2 separate regions of the Homo sapiens genome follow, and region 1 is linked to region 2. Evidence: promoter capture Hi-C in 16 types of primary human blood cells and fetal thymus (Javierre and others, 2016). All regions are on one chromosome and are shown on one strand. The core of a region is centred on a gene start or on the middle of the fragment in contact, and the rest is flanking DNA. Distances in the headings are between cores, read along the strand shown.

Region 1 (4,361 bases), core at 56-2,555, 200 kb after region 2:
ACATCCTTATTGTCTCTGAATTAAAGGATTAGAACCCAGAATACATATTGCAATAAAATAAATAAAATATTAGGCTGTTTTCTTCATTTTAAAATCCAAATAAGAATTATTTATAATAAATGAATTTATTATTTATTTTTATAATTTTTAAATATAAATCTGTAATGCTGAATAATATTCTAGAAAATAGTAAATGATCAAATGCTTTGGAGTCTGTTGCTCTGTAGCCCATTCCCTGAATACTTCCCTGGCCATTTTTCTCATGAAGGCACCAGGCCATATTCTCATCTCCTGTGCTGTTTGCCCTTTTGCTAATTTTTTACGTGCTGGAGGCCCCCACCTTTGCCTGTGCCATGGCTCTGTGCTTATGAAGGACACAGCATACTAATACTTCAACCAACAGCTGTGCTTCCTCAGTGAAGCTCAAAACAGAACCAACTTACTTCCTTATTTATAGAATTAGCCAATCTTCTGTGTATTTTCACCATTGTAACATATTTTCTTACCAGACTTTATGCTCCATGAATACAAGAAGGTTTTTAGTAATCTTAGTATTTCCAGAAATTATAATCGTTTCAGGTATGTTGTGCAGACTTGATAATTTTTTGCCTCTAAATGAATTCACAGAAGTAGCACTAAACACATAAACAGATGTTCATGTATATTAAATGTTCTGTGGTTTTAAAGACTATTAAAAAAAATAAAGCAAGATTAGACTGAGTGGGCTTCTTGAAGGAATAGTCATGGGAAACTTTACTGAGATCAACAGAAGAGCAGAAATTTGACTGAAATGACTGTGAGACATGAGGATTCTGCCTCTTTTTAGCAGGGGTAACAGCAGCTGCTAGCCATGGGCAGGAATGTGCTTGGTGGTTTTGAGGAATAACAAAAAAAGTCGCAGTGGCTGAAGGGAGAAGGCAGGAGGTGATGTCAGGAGGCAGTAGACTCCAAAGGTGAGCCTATCGTAAGCTTTATTCAGTAAATTCATTTTATTCTTAATTTAGTGGTAGATTTTCAACAAATGAGCAACGTCTGGTTTATGTTTGTATGGGAGTTTTCTCTATATTTCTGTATATTTTCTCTATAGAGAAAATACTAGGCAGGGCATAACATATAGAGCTCATTAAGGAGCTGTGGTCGTTTCCCTCCTGAGTGATTGTGGTGGCTTGGACAAAACCGAAAGGCCTAAAGGGAATGAGACGAGATTTGATTCTCTCAATATTTAGAAAGTGGGGTGATAACCATATAACGAATATTTGTAACATCAGAGTACCAGAAGGAAAGGAGAGAGGTATTTAAAGTATTTTAAAAAATAATGGCTGAAAATGTCCCAAATTTAGCAAAAGTTATGAAACTACACATTCAAGAATCTGAGATAACATCAAATAAGATAATTTTAAATAAATCCATGGTGAAGGCAAATCATAATTAAATTTTTGAAAACTAAAGACAAAATCTTCAGAGTAACCAGAGATAAATAACACATTCCCTACATAAAAGAATGGCAGATTTCTCATCTGAATCCATGGTGGCCAGAAGGAAGTGTAGGACATTTTCTCAGATACTGAAAGAAAAGAACCATAACAAAATTCTCTATCTTTTGAAACTATATTCATGAACAAAGGGAAATAAAAAGCTTACCAGACAGGAAAACTAAGAGAAAATGTTGCTAGCAAACCTACCTTTAAAAAGATGACTAGAGGAGGTTCTCTAAATAGAAAGTATATAACGCAGGAAGGCTGGGAACACAGGAAAGAAAGAACATTGGAGGTTGGCAGAAATAGGGGGAAATGTAATAGAATCTGTTTCTCATGAGTTTCTGACATCATATTTGATGTTTGGAGAAAAATGCTCTGTATGTAGAGGAAATACTTAATTCTATTTAAAAGGGGGGAGGGTAAAGGGATCTAAGTAGAATGAAGCTTTCTACATTTCACTTGAAGTGGTAAAATGCTGACTAATAGACTGTGATAAGTTACATATGCACACTTTAATATCTAGAACTGCTAAGAAAACGATAAAGAGTATTGTGCTTAGAAACACTGCAAATAAACAAGATGGAATCTAAAAAATGTTGATATAACCAACAGGAAAATAAGAAAATGGTAATAGATGAATGAAAAACCGAGAAAACAAAACAAATAAAATAGCAGCCTAACATAGCAATATTTATCTTAAATGTAAATAATCAATGTGTATCAAAATACAAATTGACAGAGTGGAAAGAACAAGAAACATAATTCTAAAATATTTATAGGAAATTCATAACATAGTTAACAACATGAGTTGATAAAGAATAGAAAAAGATATACCATACAAACATTATTCAAATCAAAGTAAGAGTGGCCCCATTGATATCACATAAAGTCGACTCTAGAGCAAAGAAAACTCGTGGGCAAAAAGATCACTATATAACGATAAAAGTATCAATCCAACAAAAATGCAGTTATCCTAAATATGTCCCCACCAAACAAAAGAACCTCAAAGTACACAAAATAAAACTGACTGAGCTGAAAGGAGAAATAGGCACATTTTAAATTCTAGTTGTAAGTCTGACCACCTCACTCTCAGCAGTTGGTAGAATCACTAGGCGTTAAATTACTAGCAGACATAGAACAGGAGAGCACCATCAACCAATAGGGTAGAAGCAACATTTACGGAACAGTGCCCAACAGCAAAATATACACTTTTTCTCAAGTGCTCATGGACTATTCAGGAAGATAAACCATATCCTGGGCCATAAACCAACCTCAGCAGGTATAAAAGAACTGAAATCATTCCGAGTGTGTTTTCTGGCCATAATGAAATGAATCAAACTATGAATTAATTCATAGTAGAAAGACAACAGCAAAATATCCAACCACTTGGAAATGAAACAACAGACTTCTAAATAATATTTGGATCAAAGAAAAAGCCTCAAAATAAATTTTAGAAATTCATGGAATTGAATAAAGCCCTGCTGATAGGGAAATTAACAGCACTAAATGTTAACCTCAGAAAAGAGGAAAGGCCTCAAAACGATAATTAACTTTCTACTTCAAGAAACTAGAAAAACAAGGAGGGACGGGACAAGGTTGTGGCTGATCCCAGAGAGGTAGTGGCAGCCACCGAGGCAGAAAGTGGGACTGGCGCACACCCTGAGCACATCGCAACCCCTGTGCACCCAGCTGTGAACCGGGGGAGCCAGATCAGAGGCCGGTGCCAGCTGGGCCAACTCCAACAAGGACACATCCCTAGCTGTGGGTAGTAAGTCCAGTTATAAATTTTTCTCCCTTCTTCTGTGGATAAGCTGGAACAGATCCCTGAATTGCACTGATACCGAAGATGCGTGCATTATAGAAAATTGTTGTCAAGCACCTTAGTGGCCATTTTGAACCTCAAAGCTCAGAGGAAGCTAAAGGTTTGCCACTTGAAAAAGGGAACTGAGATCTGCAACTACAGCTACTCCAATAAGATAGTGGCTGTGGAGCTCCAAAGGCAAAGGCTAATAGCGTGCCTGGGAGATCCTTTGCACTTCCACAACATTTGGGACTTGAAGGTACTGCCTGGGATCAGGAGATCCTCCAAGCCCTGCAGGCTTGTGAGCACTACCAATAGTTACTTGGCCTAGGCAGGGAGTGCTGTGACTTTTCTATTTTAAATTTATACAATTTATTCAGCAAAGTAATGAGATATTGTGGTTGCAAGTTTCAGTATTTGCCTAGCTTCCCTTTTCATTTTGCAGAATTAGAACAACCTCAAATACTTCAAACTGCATTCCAAACCAACGCATATAGCAGCTAAAGTTCTGAGGGCATTTAAGTGGAGTTATTCTATGAAAGATCATTTTAGATTTTTTGGAGTGGTGAAAGTTTAGGATGGAAATGAAAAGGTAAAAATATTGTATCTGCTCTGCCTTTTCAGGATTTCAGGTTTTTTAACAGAGGAAGGGTGAGAGATGCCTGTTTCCAGGTCATTGTGCCATGGTCACACCTGTTGAATAGCTTCCAAAGGGGGTTGGTCAACTGACCATCTGCAGTGAAATGCCCTGATATTCCTGGGTTGGCTTTACAGCAAGTCTCTAAATGCTGGGAGCACATAGTCAGTTCTCACTGTGCAGACTTTTCTAGAGGAGCTAGTGTGTAGATTGTATTGTTACTAGGCAGAGGGAAAAGGTGAGGAGGATAAACTTTTCTTTAAAATCTCTTATATGTCCATCCTGGACCCTCAGTCATGTGGGATCCCAGTCATGCCATATTGGGTGTGCTCCCAAGTGGAGCAGGCTGCTGTTTACCAAAGAGAGAGAAGGGCCATGGCAAGAGGCAGTCTTGACCTGCCCCACAGGCTTATGACACGGGACCAGAGGGGTCTCTCTCTGTCTC
Region 2 (4,295 bases), core at 1,138-3,637:
AATGTCACTAAGAAGACTGGTGAAATTTGTACTGAAATAGCAGCACAAAACCTAGAGTTCCTTGTTCAAGGAAAGGAAAAATGTGCTAGATAGCTATGAAAGCAGCCATTTCACACGAAGCTTATAACATGTACCAGCTTCATAACAACTTCAGCGTTTGGCAGGAATGTTATCACTGGCAGAACACAGGAACAGAGCAGACTTTGTCTGTGATAGTCAACCTGCATGTGGACCTCCTTGATGTCTGGAGCTTTGTTGTGAGACCTCAGGCTGCTTTCCTCAGGACCAAGGCCCCTAACGATTCTAGCTGACTAACAAATGCCTGGGTTAAGGTTTCACCACTGACTACAAGTACCTGATTTTTAAAAATTTTTGTGCACATTGATTCGGTTCTTTCCTTGGTAAAATGTAGTTACTAATAAAGACAGAATTATGACATCCTGGACCTGGTTTAAATTAAGGAACCCTGAGAGGAAGCCGAAGTCCAGCAAGAGCACAATTAGCAAATATGTTAGGACCTGGCCTCTGGCTCTTTTGCCCGGACAGGGTTTTAGAGAGGGGCAGGGAAGAAAAGGTGTTTTCCCTTCAACAAGAATTACAGATTGTTTTCTTCCAGTTTAGTTTGGTAACAGGTAGATTTCACAGAATGACAGTAGTCCAGCCTGGGAGCAGGTAGATTTCACAGAATGACAGTAGTTCAGCCTGGGAGCAGGTAGATTTCACAGAATGACAGTAGTTCAGCCTGGAAGCAGGTAGATTTCAAAGAACTGCAGCAACAGCTTGTCCATAACAGGTAGAGTCATTCACTCCTGGGATGAGCCAAGCTGGAAGGAATGTGTCCTAGGAGACTCAAGGTTTCCCAATGTTTCATTTGTCAACAGCTCATAAGCAAGTCACTTCCACTTCACACGACCTCACAGAGACCCCACACAGATGCATTTTGGATTTTGGTGAGCTGTTATAATAGTCAGAGGCAGGGACAGGCTCAGCCTGAATCCTGCTCAGAGGCCAACCAGGATTGGTTAGTGCGAGTCAGCCCACACCTCCTTCCCCCATGCTCCGGAGGAACAGTGGGTGTGTTGTGAATTCACTGGAAAAGTGGTTGGAAGGACGCATTCCAAACTGCTAAGACCTCCCCTCCTGGAAGTGGGACTGTGGTGTGGATGGTTCTGGAAGAACGCAAAAGATACAGGGCCCTGACCTTTAGGCCTAAGCGTGTTAATGACCATACACGAAGCAGGTGTTTCTCAGCGTCCCCCTGCCACCGCCCCGACTTGTACTGTGGGCTTATTTTTAAAGAGAAAGATGCTTCTAACCTGCAGTGTCTACAACAGCTCCCATTTAAGAACCCGGGATTGGAAGCTCATAGATTGCGTTTCGTAGCCGGACCGCTCCCTTTCACACATGTAGTCTCTCTGCCCGCCACACGTAGCACACACAGTGGGACCCGGCGCCGCTGAACGCCTGCACCTTCAAGCCCGCAAATGGTTCTCTATCCTTTTCCAGGTACTTGATCTTCAGAGAAACACGATCTCCCTCTTAGACCTTACTTTACAGTTGCTGCCACGCAATGACTTAGGATTTTACCAAGAATTGGCTTGGGTCTGTTGGGATATGAATATTAACCCAAGCAGGAAAATAGCCAATGCTGCCTGTTCGACCACGAGCGGGTGCGAAGCGCAGGGAAGACTCCTCAGGGTCCACCCGCCCCTTGTCCCCCCTGCTCCCCAGGCAGCGTCTCCGCCCTTGGACCCGGAGGCAAGGAGGAGCGCTTCTCCCAGCACCACCAACCTGGAGGGCTCCGCCGGACGGTTGGGGCCTCCCCTCGGAGACCAGAGCCCGCGCTTCCAGGAGGGGCCAAGCCTGGGCCCCTCCCGCGCCCAGCTCCCGTTGTGATTTCCAGGACCCCCAGAAGCCCGGTCCCCTCGCATCGCGGAAGCTTTGCTCGGGGTTCCTGGGACCGGACCCTCTTCTGCGCCCGCGACTGCAGCAGCGGCCAGAGATGCATGCAGCCACTCGCCAGCTGTCACCTGGTTTGCAGACGCCCGCGCACCTCGCAAGAGCCACACCTGGTACCTGTGCCCAGCTGCAAGAGGGTGAGGAGGCGCGGGACGGGATTGGGCTCTGCCCGCGGGCGCGGCTGGACGGCTTGGGCACCAGTGGGGCGGATGGGTGTGTGCGCGGGGTCGCGGAGCGCAAGAGAATGCGGGGAGCAGGGGGCTGAAGGGAGCGGGGTACGGTACTAGAGGCGCACAGGGGAATATGAGGCCACCGAACGCAAGGCGATTGGAAGCGCACGGCAATCAGGGGGACGCGGGGCACTCGCCTGATGAGGGCTCCTGCATAGTCCCGGGCGGCCTCCATGGCGCGGATCCCCTAGCGGGCCTGGAGGTCTGTCTGCCTGCACAGCCTCTTAAAGTGCGGCGGCCCCGCCCCCGCCCGCCTGCCAGCCCCGCGAAGGCCTGACTGGCGCAGGGGAGGACGTTTTGGCACGAGCTCTCCACCGCCGAGGATCGCGACTTCGCGCTCTGGGAGCCCCCGGTCGTCCTGGCTCCCGCAGCCTGGAGCCGCGCGTCCTTCGCTGCCTTGGGCCGTACCGAGGACCTTGGAAGCCCAGATGCTCCCCGGGTCTCTTTTGGTCACTTGCCAGCCTGTTCGTTTTGCACTTCTGGGGGTCGGGGCAGTTGGGGTCATAACCAATCCTGGCAGCATCACTTTGGCCGCGGAAAGACGGGTATGTGGATTTTAAACCCAGGCCACGGGTGGGGCAGGTGAGGAGACGGATGTGAGCGCCACTTGCCTCCAGCTCTGGAGTCCCCCAGAGCCCAGCCCCAGGCTCAGCGAGCCGCTGGTTCCCTGCAGGGATGCGGAAGCTGCCGCAGACACCGGGACCTGCAGCCCTTCAGGTTCTCCGAGGCGCCTGGGCTTCCTGCCCGCTGCGCTGCTCTCAAGGCCATGTCATGAGCATTTGGGGACAGTGAGAAGGGCATGCAGAACGGGAGGGGAAAGGAGCCTTTGGACTGCATGAATTGCCTTTTAGCTGTAGTAAGGGACCCTCGCAGAGTGAGGAGGCAAAGAGTGAACCCCGCTGGGGCTGGGGGACTTCCGTCCACACCCTGCTCTCATGGTTGTTCCCATCGGAAGACGCAATTAGGGCCTCTGAGACCTCCGAGGAAGGCGGGCAGTTACAAGGGGTTCCCAGAACCCCTCACTACAGGACTGAAGAGGTGGGCTCAGTGTTGAGGGGTGGGACTCGGGCAGTAAGAGGTGTAACTTTCTGGGATGGAGGCTTGCTAGGATATCCTCTCGTGCCCAACTGCTGACTGCCGCCTGGAAACAGCGTTTCGGGAGCTGCAGCGGGACCCTCGCCGGCTCCTCCTGAGCCCACCTGGTTTGAGCAGACTGACCTGATCTCTTAAGACCTGACCCTATGCCCGCCCTCTTCCTCCGCTGGCTCTCAGAAAGGGTCACCGTGGTCAACAAGCCTTGTGACTTGCAGGACTGTTGAAGCCAAAGGCAATTGCCTTCCAGAGTCAAGGACTCCGCCTGCTGGGAACACCCAGCTCCAGGCTCACAGGGGGCAGCTTCCCCCAGAGGCACTGAGCGGACACAGCTTTAGGAGGTCATTCACTGCCCCTCCCACTCACAGCCCCAATGTGATGGATGAGAAAATGGGTCCAATCAATTCAGGTCAACTTACCTCTAACCTTTTTATTGTGAAAAAGTTCAAATATAGAGATACATAGAAAGAACAGGGCTGAGGGTACTGGCTTACATCTGTAATCCCAGTACTTTGGGAGGCCAAAACAGGAGGATGGCTTGAAGCCAGGAATTTGAGACCAGCCTGGGTAACACTGTGAGACTACTATCTCTACACAAAAATAACGATAATTAGCCAAGCATGACGGCGAGCACCTGTAGTGCTAGCTACTCAGGAGGCTGAGGAGGGAGGATCACCTGAGCCCAGGAGTTTGAGGTTGCAGTGAGCTGTGATCATGTCACTGCACTCCAATATGGGCAACAGAGTGAGACTTTCTCTCTAAAGAAAGAAAAAAATCTGTTTGTGTGTATATATCTATCTATCTATATATAAGATAGATAGATAGATAGATAGATAGATAGATAGATAGATAGATAAGAGAGAACAGTACAATGAGCACACTTACACCCAGCCCCTGGATTCAACCACTGTTAACATTTTGACATATTTCTTTGTTCTTTATATTTGAATTTGAACCCTTCCAAATTAAATCCTTTAGCTTGCATCTCTGGAGAAACAAGGACATGATCTCATA

The links. The method cuts DNA at HindIII sites, captures the fragments that hold promoters and counts their contacts. A CHiCAGO score of 5 or more calls a contact.
Region 1: a fragment that was not itself captured here is called in contact with the fragment with the promoter of CIDEA in region 2 in 2 of 17 cell types (erythroblasts and megakaryocytes); the score reaches 6.1 in erythroblasts.

Annotation. Positions count from the first base shown.
Region 1 is chr18:12,049,543-12,053,903 of GRCh38, reverse strand. No RefSeq gene overlaps it. Among named protein-coding and RNA genes, the nearest start is that of ANKRD62, 42 kb to the left of the region's middle. RefSeq lists an enhancer at 3,154-3,343. The HindIII fragment of the contact is 667 bases long and covers 972-1,638 here.
Region 2 is chr18:12,252,453-12,256,747 of GRCh38, reverse strand. CIDEA (cell death inducing DFFA like effector a) reads right to left here and starts at 2,387. Exons shown (of 5, transcript NM_001279.4): 1 at 2,327-2,387. The coding sequence starts at 2,364. LOC105371996 (a long non-coding RNA gene) reads right to left here and starts at 1,735. Exons shown (of 2, transcript XR_935158.3): 1 at 1,317-1,735; 2 at 1-1,169. RefSeq lists an enhancer at 2,645-3,251. The HindIII fragment of the contact is 8,350 bases long and covers 1,942-4,295 here.